Linked DNA regions of Homo sapiens: region 1 is linked to region 2. The links are contacts of gene promoters, found by promoter capture Hi-C in blood cells and fetal thymus (Javierre and others, 2016). All regions are on one chromosome and are shown on one strand. Each heading gives the region's core, a stretch centred on a gene start or on the middle of the fragment in contact. The rest is flanking DNA. Distances are from core to core; before and after follow the strand shown. Region 1 overlaps DCUN1D4 (defective in cullin neddylation 1 domain containing 4). Region 2 holds the start of LRRC66 (leucine rich repeat containing 66).

What was found. Contacts are between HindIII fragments. The CHiCAGO score rates a contact against its expected background, and 5 or more counts as called.
Region 1: a contact is called between a fragment that was not itself captured here and the fragment with the promoter of LRRC66 in region 2, in 2 of 17 cell types (monocytes and endothelial precursors). The highest score is 6.6, in monocytes.

What each region holds. Positions count from the first base shown.
Region 1 is chr4:51,861,863-51,867,113 of GRCh38, forward strand. DCUN1D4 (defective in cullin neddylation 1 domain containing 4) reads left to right here. Exons shown (of 11, transcript NM_001040402.3): 2 at 1,575-1,645; 3 at 1,808-1,847. It also overlaps the pseudogene DUTP7. Among named protein-coding and RNA genes, the nearest start is that of DCUN1D4, 21 kb to the left of the region's middle. The HindIII fragment of the contact is 982 bases long and covers 2,260-3,241 here.
Region 2 is chr4:52,017,748-52,023,200 of GRCh38, forward strand. It overlaps LRRC66 (leucine rich repeat containing 66), which reads right to left and starts at 2,616. Exons shown (of 5, transcript NM_001024611.3): 1 at 2,557-2,616. SGCB (sarcoglycan beta) reads right to left here. Exons shown (of 6, transcript NM_000232.5): 6 at 2,959-5,453. The HindIII fragment of the contact is 6,788 bases long and covers 1-4,002 here.

The DNA of each region.
Region 1 (5,251 bases), core at 1,501-4,000, 160 kb before region 2:
TGGTCCTGAGAGGCCTCTTGCTGGTGAGAGGGCTGTAGCTTCTAGCTTCTACCCCTGTTCACGTTTAATAAATATAAATGTAAATAAATAGGTGTATAATACACATACTTTTCTAAACCTCTGTGCAGTCGTATTTAGATGAAAAATCCAGATTCTCAGCCACTTTATGTCATCATTTACCTTAAGCATGGCTGGGCTATTCAGATGCTAAGCAATTCAAGCATGTCTATATTGGAGGGCCATTTAGAGCTTGAGGCCCTGCTCTGGCTGTCTCTCAGCACAAAATGCTGGTTTTGGGGACCATTCTATATGGCTATGACTGTGAACAGTGCATATGCACATGTATGTATACAGGTATGACCTGCTGTTCCTGACACTGCATGTGAATGTGAGGGGCTCTGCTTCTGCCAGCCCCTCTGCCCTGCAGACCTACTCAGAACTGGATGCCCAACAAGCTTTAGAAGAGAAAGTAAAGCTTTCTAACTGTGAACAGGGAGGCCAGCTTGTTTTCAGGGTTCAGAGTAGCAGCACAGAGGATCCAGCCCAAGCACAGACACCTGATATTGTAGCACCTGCTCTTTGGATCTGTTCTTTGGATCTGATACGTGTCCTAAATAAAATGTTTCAGTAAAGGGAGCTTTTTTTCTTTCTTTCTTTTTGTCAGAATGGTATAACTTGGAGAGTTACAATATCTTTTCATGGTCATTTTCATACTAACCTTTAATAGGAAAGAAGGAACTAATGTAAATCCTGATATTTTGTGAAAATACTTCCAGTGGTACTTATATATGAAATTATTAATAAACTTTCAGCTTACATTTTTATTGCCTAATATATATGCAAACATACTTTACTTCAAGTTGAGGCTGCGCGTAGTGGCCCACACCTTTAATCCCAACATTTTGGGAGGCTGAGGCAGGAGGATCACTTGAACCCAGGAGTTCAAGACCAGCCTGGGAAACATAGAAAGACCCTGTCTCTACAAGAAAAAAAAAAAGAAAAATTAGCTGTGCATGATGGTGCACACTAGTAGTCCCAGCTACCATGCAGGCTCAGGCAGATCACTTGAGCCTGGGAGTCTGAGGCTGCAGTGAACCATGATTGCACCACTGCACTTCAGCCTGGGCAACGTAGTGAGATCCTGTCTCAAAAAAAGGAAAAGAAAAAATAAATACTAATGTTGGGATGCTTTTCTATCATTTTCTTGCCATGAGCTTACTTAATTGTACCAGTAATTCTAGGGAAGAGAGGGGAAAGTGAACATTTCATTTGAGACTTATCTTTCTATTAAGTTCAAGTTCACTGCTGGCAGGATTTTATAACTACTGAAGTACTTTTTGTTTTACCTTAGAATTCACATGAAAATTTCATGAACTTTAACATTTGGTTGGGAATTTAACTTTATTGTCAGACTATTTCTAGGAGGTCACTAATTGCATGTTTTTAAAAAACTTTAGTGTCAAATTAATTGAGATAGTATTTAATTATATCAAAACATTTGTTTATTTTCTGAGTTTGTTTTTTTACAATATTGGAAATAAATGACGCTGACATTTTTCCTTTTTCTTTTCAAGATTTTCAGCTGAACTCTCATCTCTCAACACTGGCAAATATTCATAAGATCTACCACACCCTTAATAAGCTGGTAAGTCATTCTTTTAAAGACAAAATTACCAACTGTTTGAAGTAGTCATTTTGTATAAGTGTATTTGATAAAAATTTAGATTCTAGATATTAGGATATCAGTTGTTTATGAAAATGCTAACGGTATGTGATTTCTTCGTAATAACGAACATATTTCTTTCAGAACCTAACAGAAGACATTGGCCAAGACGATCACCAAACAGGTATCTGTAAATGCTAACACTACTTAATTTTAAATAGCTTCTTAATATTAGGAAAGAGAAATACTAGCTATGAATGCGCTATGTTGTCATAATGTACTCCATTAACAAATTGTTCCTTGGCTGAGGTTGTTTTTCAGGGAGTAATGAAGGCAGCCATGTTATAGCTTCTTCCCAGTAGGAAATCTCTTCTGGAAGCACTTTTTAATGCCTTTAAAGAGGCTCGGGATTCTCATAGTTTCAAGATACCTTGTTTTCTCTACTGCAGTATTTTCATTTATATTAAAAAGGTGCTACAGTAATGCAATTTGAAAGGTATTCCACAAATATTTGAGAAATTCAGCTGAAAAATGATTTAATATGGTGTGTGTGTATGTGTTCATAGTTACTGAAGATTTAGAAATCAGAAAATTGAAGCTTGATTAGTATAAGTTATCCTCTAACCCTGTGGTTCTCAGAGTTTAGCTGGCATTATGATCACCTGAGGGAAGGCCTTGTTTAAAGTACAGATGTTAGGTTCCACCCCAGAGTTTCTGGTTCTGTAGACTTGGGGTGGGGCCCCAGAGTTTGCTCCTATGTGATGCTGATGGAGCTGGTCTGGAGACCACTCTTTGAGAACCACTTCTCTCAACTGTTAGTAATCATCAAGTCCAGAAACTTGCATTTGATCTATGGTTACTAAAATCCTAGCAAAAATTATTTAAACACATTTTAAAGTTTTTGAAAATGGCCATAGTAATAGACGAATTGAAATTTGTCTTAGTCTGGGCTGCTGTAACAAAAATACCTTAAACTGAGTAGTTTATAAACAATAGAACTTGATTGTTCATGGTTCTGGAGACTGGTAAGTTTAAGGTGAAGGCACCAGCAGATCCTGGGTCTGGTGAGGGTCTGTTCCTCACTGATGGTGCCTCTTGCTCACTGCATCTTAACATGGCAGAAGGGGCAGGCAGCTCCCTCAGGCCTCTTTTATAAGGGCACTAATTCCATTAATGAGGGCTCTACCTCCCTGACCTAATTGCCTCCCAACTCTACCTCTTACTACCAGCAGTCTGGGGATTAGCTTTCAGCATGTAAATTTTGGAGGGGCACAAACTTTCAGGCCATAGCAGTGCTTGTTGGGGAATTTTGAATAGCACAAAAGTAAATAGAGTGGAAAGTTACAGTCGTCTTTTAGACAACTATTTAGACGTCTCTTTAGATGACTAAATAGAGTGAAAAGTGACAGCTGTCACTTTCTGCCAGCACATGGTTTAACATTGGTTCTTTCAGACTTTTTTTTCAAAGCAAAAACTCTTTAAGAAAAAGGTATGATTTCTCATTTTCTATTCTTAGCATAAGTTTTAATTCTTTCCAGTGGAACCCAAACCTCCTGAACCTCTTTCAGTGTCATCCAAAGCTTTGAACTTCTATTTCTGGATAAAGATTTGTTCACAAATGAACTGCAGTTCAATCACCTTTTTTGACTTCAGACTTTTCTTTGCCAAAATAAAACAGTACAGCACCAGCATTTCCTCTGTAATCTTCCTTTATGATACCACCTCCTACATCTATAAAGTGTTTTGCAGCCAAGCCAGCGTGGAGCTACTCTTCCACAACACCTGGAAGGAGGAGCTCTATCTAAATGTCTGTTCACAAGAGCTTTCTCCATAGGTGGTATTGTATCATCTTAGGCACTGTACAGGTCATAGCCTGCAGCCTGTACAGACCCTCAGGTCAGGCCGTGGTATGCTTGGAGAGCTGGGCAAGGCAGAGCTGCATGCTGACCTCCTCCACAGACCAGAGAGCTTGCTGGGGGAAATGGCAGGTATCTCTTTAGAGAAGGGCATGGCAGAACGAGAAGGTGAGCGAAGGAGGGAATGAGAGGGTGCAGGATCCCTTCTCACATTTGTATGCATGCATATATGTTTATAGTCGTGGTTTTTAATTTAGCATTGGTGATATCATACTGTACGTGTTATAGTGTGTTTTTCTTTTTCATTTAATGGTGCATTTTGGGGGCTGTTGAGATTTAAGACTGTCCCCACCTTCTCTAAATTGGTTCAGAATCAATTGAAAATTAGGTGTAAGATGGAGACTGAAGTAACAGTGTTTTTGGAAAACACAACTTAGATGTGCAGCAAGAATGCACAGGACTTTCAGCATTTCACCTGAATCACTGTCACAACTAGATAAGCACAAGCCAGCATACCTGCTGACCCTTTACACCCTGCACTATGACAGTGGAAGTGTTCATACTCTTTCAGCTTGCTCCACTGCAGGCAGATCTGAAAGGGAGTTCAGAGGGGTTGGGCTTTCTGCTCATTTCAGGCTCTCTGCTCAGTTCAGTCTCTCAGCACTTAGATCAGGCACTCCTTCTTCCAGGGAAAGGAGTGAGACAGAGAGGCAGAGAATGCGCTAGGAGTGTTCTAGGAGTTCAGGGGTACTAAGGGTCCCTTCACCTGATCATTCCATATCAGCAAATATAGATCAACTCAAGGACAGTCAAAAACAATTTATTTAATAATTTTAAAAGCAGTATATTCGCATAGTTTTGAAAGAAGTATTGAAAAAATATAAAACAAAAAGTGAAGATTTCTGTCCCAGTTTATCACCCCTAGGTTCCATCCCCCACTAGTAGTCCACGTTTGACTTTCCAGAGGTAACTCTTCTGTTTGTTAACCAAATTATGGTGATGATGATGATGATGATGATGATGATGATGTATTTTTTCCTTAAATACAAGTGTACATTTATATTTGCCACTTTTCCACTCAGTATATCCTTGAGATCTTTTCATATTAACACATTTATAAAGCATCTGCTTTCTTTTTTAATGACTGTAATTTTCTAATCCATGGGTATTTTATAATACGTTCCTTCAGCCTCCTGTTGATTTATGTACACTTATGCTTATATGTTTAACTTTTAGCCACCACTAATAATGCAGGAATATAACTTTTGGACCAGTTTTAGTAGTTCTGAACTTTTGAATTAGATAAGTATTGTTACTATAGTAATTTTGCATGTAAATATTTAACCCAAAGTGTGGCACTTGAAATTCAGTTAAACGAAAGTATACTTGGACTCATGCCTCCACTTTTGCCTTGGTTACAGTGGATACGTCCAATACTGGGAGTACTTTTCATGGGATTCTTGGGGTGTTGCTTTGCCAGCCGGAAACTTCTGTGGCTGGTGGCACCTTCTGCCTGAGTATTGCCTGTGTCTGCTGGGCTCCTTCCACCCACTTGGCCAGGCAGGCTGCACTCAGTTCTCACTACTGGCCTGGATCCCACACCTGCCAAGTGTGAGTTAGACATGGAGCAGCACACGGTGTGTGGGTGAGCAAGCACCCGCTCCAATCACTGCACACAGCCAGGCATGCTGGCTGCTGCAGTGGGGCAAGTAGCTCCAGGTGCCAGCACAGG
Region 2 (5,453 bases), core at 1,366-3,865:
GTTTGATTTCTTACTGGGGCATGAAAATGTAGCTACCAAAATGAAATAGCCATAGTATAAAATTACATTTATGTCACATTTTAAAGAAAGGACTCCCCTGATTTTTCAGAAAATACATATTCAGTTAGGCCTCACCTCTGCATCTGCTTTTCCAGTAGTTTTCACTCCACAGTGTGCTTTGGGATGAATGAAACCTTACCAAGATTAAAGACTTCCCTGTTTCTTTGCAGGCCATTAATACAGAGCAAAGTCTATTATGCTTATCTACAACATAGTAATCAACCATGTAGTTTATTACATAAATGACAACCAGTTACACTAAACCGTGACCCTCCATAACTCTATGAGTAAAAAGTTTAACTCACAAAAGAGGCTCTTACTTTTCATGACTAGAAGAAATACAAGTTTTGCTGTGTGGCTTGTGTGACTTTTCAAATCATTATGAAATCATTTAGATACATACAACATAATGTGTTATCAAATACATGTTCTGGCTCCAAGCCATGAAGATGTAATACGATACAGAAACATTGAGTATCTTTTGTACCAAACATTTTTGAGAAAAAATTCAAAGTTTTTAAAAAGAAGTGTGTACAAATTACAATGGCTGAATGTATCACAAAAATAAGTTTAAAAATGGGTAATTTTTGTGATTTGTTTTAAACTAAATTCCACTTAAAAGCCACTGTGTGTACAAATAATCACATTATTGAGTATATGAGTTTCCAAGAAATTGTCCCTTCCTTTCTGTTCTAATGGCACTCAGTTTAGTTTTCATCACTGCAGTCTGAAATACTAAAATGGCTTAACTGACTTTCTTGCCTCTGCCTCTTGACTTTCCTTCTTTGTGATCCATCCTAGGTGACTCCAAAGGATTATTTTCCTACAATAACGTATTTCCTATATTATTCCTTCATTTGAAATCCTCAAAGGGCTCCTTATTGCCTATAGTCCAAATCCCTCAGGTTGGTATTCAAAGCCTGTGTTATCTAGGTAAACTTAATGACCTAGCTTGATAAGTTCATGTGGAGCCACTACAAGATGTGGCTTCTGCAAAGAATGATCTATGCATATCGCATACTGAAATTCACTTTCAGTTCATTCCCAGTTCCAAGTTCAATGCCTTTTCCTCTTAGCCACAGTCTTAAGATGGAGTTTCGCTCTTGTTACCCAGGCTGGAGTGCAAGAGCGCCATGTCAGCTCACCACAACCTCCGCCTCCCGGGTTCAAGCAATTCTCCTGCCTCAGCCTCCCGAGTAGCTGGGATTACAGGCATGTGCCACTACAACTCACTAATTTGTATTTTTAGTAGAGATGAGGTTTCTCCATGTTGGTCAGGCTGGTCTCGAACTCCTGACCTCAGGTGACCCGCCCACCTTGGCCTCCCAAAGTGCTGGGATTACAGGCGTGAGCCACCACACCCGGCCAGCCACAGTCTTGTGTATCCTTCCAGATTCATCTCACATCTTATGGCCTGGTCATTTTTCCTGCTTTAGCCTCCAAATTTGTCTTTATTCTTACAGAAATCTTTCAGTAAACACTGAAGGAATTGATACACATTAGTAACATTCAGCGTTGCTATTGTTTTGCTTTGTATCTGTTCTGAACTCCCAAAAAAAAAAGGAACATTATCTATCTATCTATCTATCCAATGTTTTACATTTTTAATAGTCTGCAGTCTGTCACTGGGTTATGTTGTTTGTGTGTAAATGAATGCATGGAGTGAAGTGAATGAAATTTACAATGTAACTTTAAAACTTTTGTTTCATACAAGGTCAATCCTCCCATATTTTCAAGGGCATTTAAATTCAGGTACACATGGCCATGAACAGCAAAGGTAGCCTACAGCATGGAGGAGTGATTTATTTTTACAGTGTGCTTCTTATGCAATACTAGAAATTGAATTGATTTGCCCAGGAACAAAGATATTTTTTCTACGTTCAAAGCTGAGATCATTATATATACAATGGTGCACCAAGCTAATGTAACAAAATCAGCAACAAAAAAATATAGTCACCATTCACAGGTACATTACTTTGTAGTGCTGAAGAGAAAGACATGGTTGAAAAATACTTTTTCTTAAGGGGACATGAATTAAAATTGCCCTGGTTCTTTTTAAGCTGAAGAGATTTATACATGTTAGGTTTGAGTTCAAAACAGCTAGACAAGGAATCTTATATCTTAAAGTGAAAGGTATTAATTTGTTAAAAAAATCATACTATTTATAAATTTATATGTATTAGGTAAGGAACCACTCAGAACTCCAGAAAAAGTTGCTTAGAAAACTGGAAACAATTAGGCAAAATGTAAATTTCAAAATGGAAATAGTCAAGCTGAAGTAGGAGGAAGCAGTTAGAAATACTGGGTGTGTACATTTGTGAGTCAGCAAGTGAAAGATAGGAAGAAGGCAGCACAAAAAAACAAAGTATTATAGAAAGGAAATGAAGAGTTCATTTATACATAAAAGAAAGGGTGGCAAAACTGAAGGAAAAAAGCAACAGAGGCTATTTCGGGTAAGGACAAGACCTGGAAAGTAATAATGCCTCTAAGACATACCTTCGTATCCTAAGTGGTTATCAAATGGGTGGATATCTGGATCAAGCCAGGTAGGGATTTAAGACCTGAACCTTTGAGGCTCCACCCAACCTGCCATCAAGGCTGCCCAGTGGCCAGCCCTCACCCTTTCATCTCCGGCTTTGGCCTCCTGCCATGGTGACAGTGTGCACTTTCCCCTAGGACACCAGGGAAGCACCACTGGAGAGAGGCCTTCTGCAATGCACAGAGAGGAGGGCATTCAAAACTTGGAATGTACAACTTTCTAACTTTGAGTTCTAGGAGTCCAGAGAGATTACATAAATACTGACAGCGTCCCATTCTCAAGCCATATTTAAATTCATCACGTTCGCATGACTAAGTAGAAAACAGTTAATATATAACCCTTAAAAAATTAACAGCAAACAATTTACAGAATTTTTATTGTAAACAGAAGCTCATTACTAGTTATTACAAACTGAATCAACTGAAACTCAAGTTAGCAATGTGAAACACATTTATAGGCTTATTTTTGTATACCATAATTGGTAATTTTTGCCCCCTCAATACTTTTAAGAAGACTGTTAAAATTTTCAGCATTTCAATGATCTCTTATTTGTCAGGTTTAGCACCATGACATTCTCATTCCCTTAAAAAAACACTCATTCAAATCTAGGTAGAACTTCCACCTTTCATCATCAAAATTATCACACAAAATTTATTTTGTTTTTTTCACAATGCAAAAAGAAGACAAATAAGTATATTTTAAAATATTATCAGCAGTCCGTTTTGTGTGGTTTTACATTTTTCTGTCTGCCCATTATTAAGAAATCTTGCATTGATTTCATTTGCCCCCCTTGTCATTGCAACCCGTCTCTAGAATACTGTGGTAATTGAAACTAGCATGTACCTGCGCCCCCTCCCGGGGTCCTATCTTTGTCACCCACCTCCCCCATGGCTACTGCTTGTCATATCTGTGCTCAGTGCAGGGATGAGCATACAGCAGGAAGAGGCGAAGTCAGCATTTCATTTACAGAAAAATACTATCTGGTGGAGACAATGAGTTGCTGAAGATTTACTGTGGATAAAAATAAGCCGGCCAGGCGTGGTGGCTCACACCTGTAATCCCAGCACTTTGGGAGGCCAAGGCAGGCAGATCACGAGGTCAAGAGATTGAGACCATCCTGGCCAACATGGTGAAACCCCGTCTCTACTAAAAATACAAAAATTAGCCGGGAACTGTGGCACATGCCTGTAGTCCCAGGTACTCGGGAGGCTGAGGCAGGAGAATCGCTTGAACCTGGGAGGCAGAGGTTGCAGTGAGCCGAGAGCCGAGATTGTGCCACTGCACTCCAGCCTGGCGACAGAACAAGACTCTGTCTCAAAAAAATAAATTAATTAATTAAAAATTAGAAAAGCCATAAGTAAAATGGAGAGTTTGCCCTGTTCTGCTTTCTAATAGATTTTCCAAGCTTATGTTTCAGGGAAAAAGCCAGGACTACCTGTAAAGTATCATAAAATGCTATGGCTGTTAACCTTCAGTTGTATAAAAACATCAAAATAGCCTCTCCTCTCAAAAGAACTTCATGGAGATGTATCAAAAACACAAGTATTTCCCAAAAAAGAGTAAAAATAGATTATTTCCTGAACTACATTTAATAAATAATATTTTGTAATACAGTGTTTTCTGGTTTTTATAAAAATATTTACTTAAATAAACTTTTAAAATAAATCTAAATAGAGCAGATAAGTAATGAATATGCAATTTAATTTATGGACCATCTGAATAAAAATTTCGGCATTTTTTTCTGAATTCAGACATTAAATGATACTGAATATATTCAAATGAGTTCAAATATCACTGCAATAACACTCAAGTGGTTATAAATCTCATTCTTTTCATTTAAAAACAGCGCTCAGTGTTAGGTAGTAAGTCAATCCAATTTCAGTATAAATTAATGACTTCATAATCTCTAAGGTATTTGATTTTTCTACCAGAGAGAAATGTGACAATATTGAATACAAATTGTTTTTTGTATTGGTTTTCTTATGTGCACAATTCAAAGTGACCCTGACAGAATGCTGTTACACTTGAATGCAGGGTTGGGCCCATGCCACAACTCTACTGCCTATTTTACAGCAAACTCCTTTGGGGGCCCTGTCCCTGATTCTGTGTGAGTCTTAATAATACCAGAGAGTTCTTTTCCAATCAAATATATTAAAAATCAACTGGCTTGAGGGTTATAAATAATTACAATGGGATAGTAATATTAGGAGCAGAGATAAATTATTATCCTTACCTAAAAATTATGTGTATTATTTCCTGCATTAGCACTCTTTAGTCCAGTGCTTCTGGACTTATTTTCGAGGCATGGTGTACTTACTAGGCCATGCCTGGCCCAAAGAACTTGTTTGGGTCTATGGCCTCCCCACTTTCCACTGTGTTGCCCCGAGTGCTGAGGGTATAAATATCTTGGCAACTCTGTTATGTATTGTTACTCCAGTGTGCCAAGGTCCATTGTTGGGAAACTGAGGTAACTCAGAAGTAGGTAAATTTGACCTCTCCATCGTATAATATTTTGGAATTGGCCCAACATAGCTTACAATCGGACAGTGATTGGTCCTTTCTGGGTCTGACATGAGATTTATTTTCTTTTTAACTAGAGTAAGCATATCTGTTTTGTTTGATTCTCATCTTCTTAGGTAAGTTTAAATTAACCTTTGTTCATCTTTCTAGAGTTTTAAATAATTAAAAAGTCAGTGCAGAGAGTGAAAACAACATGGCATTTGGAATCAAGTACATCCAGGTTTGAGTCATGCCTGAATTCCAATCCCAACTCTGCTACTTACTATATGATGTTGAGCAAGTTTCTTAACTTCTCTGATCTTCAGTTTCTTAATGGGTAAAACTTGGATAATAC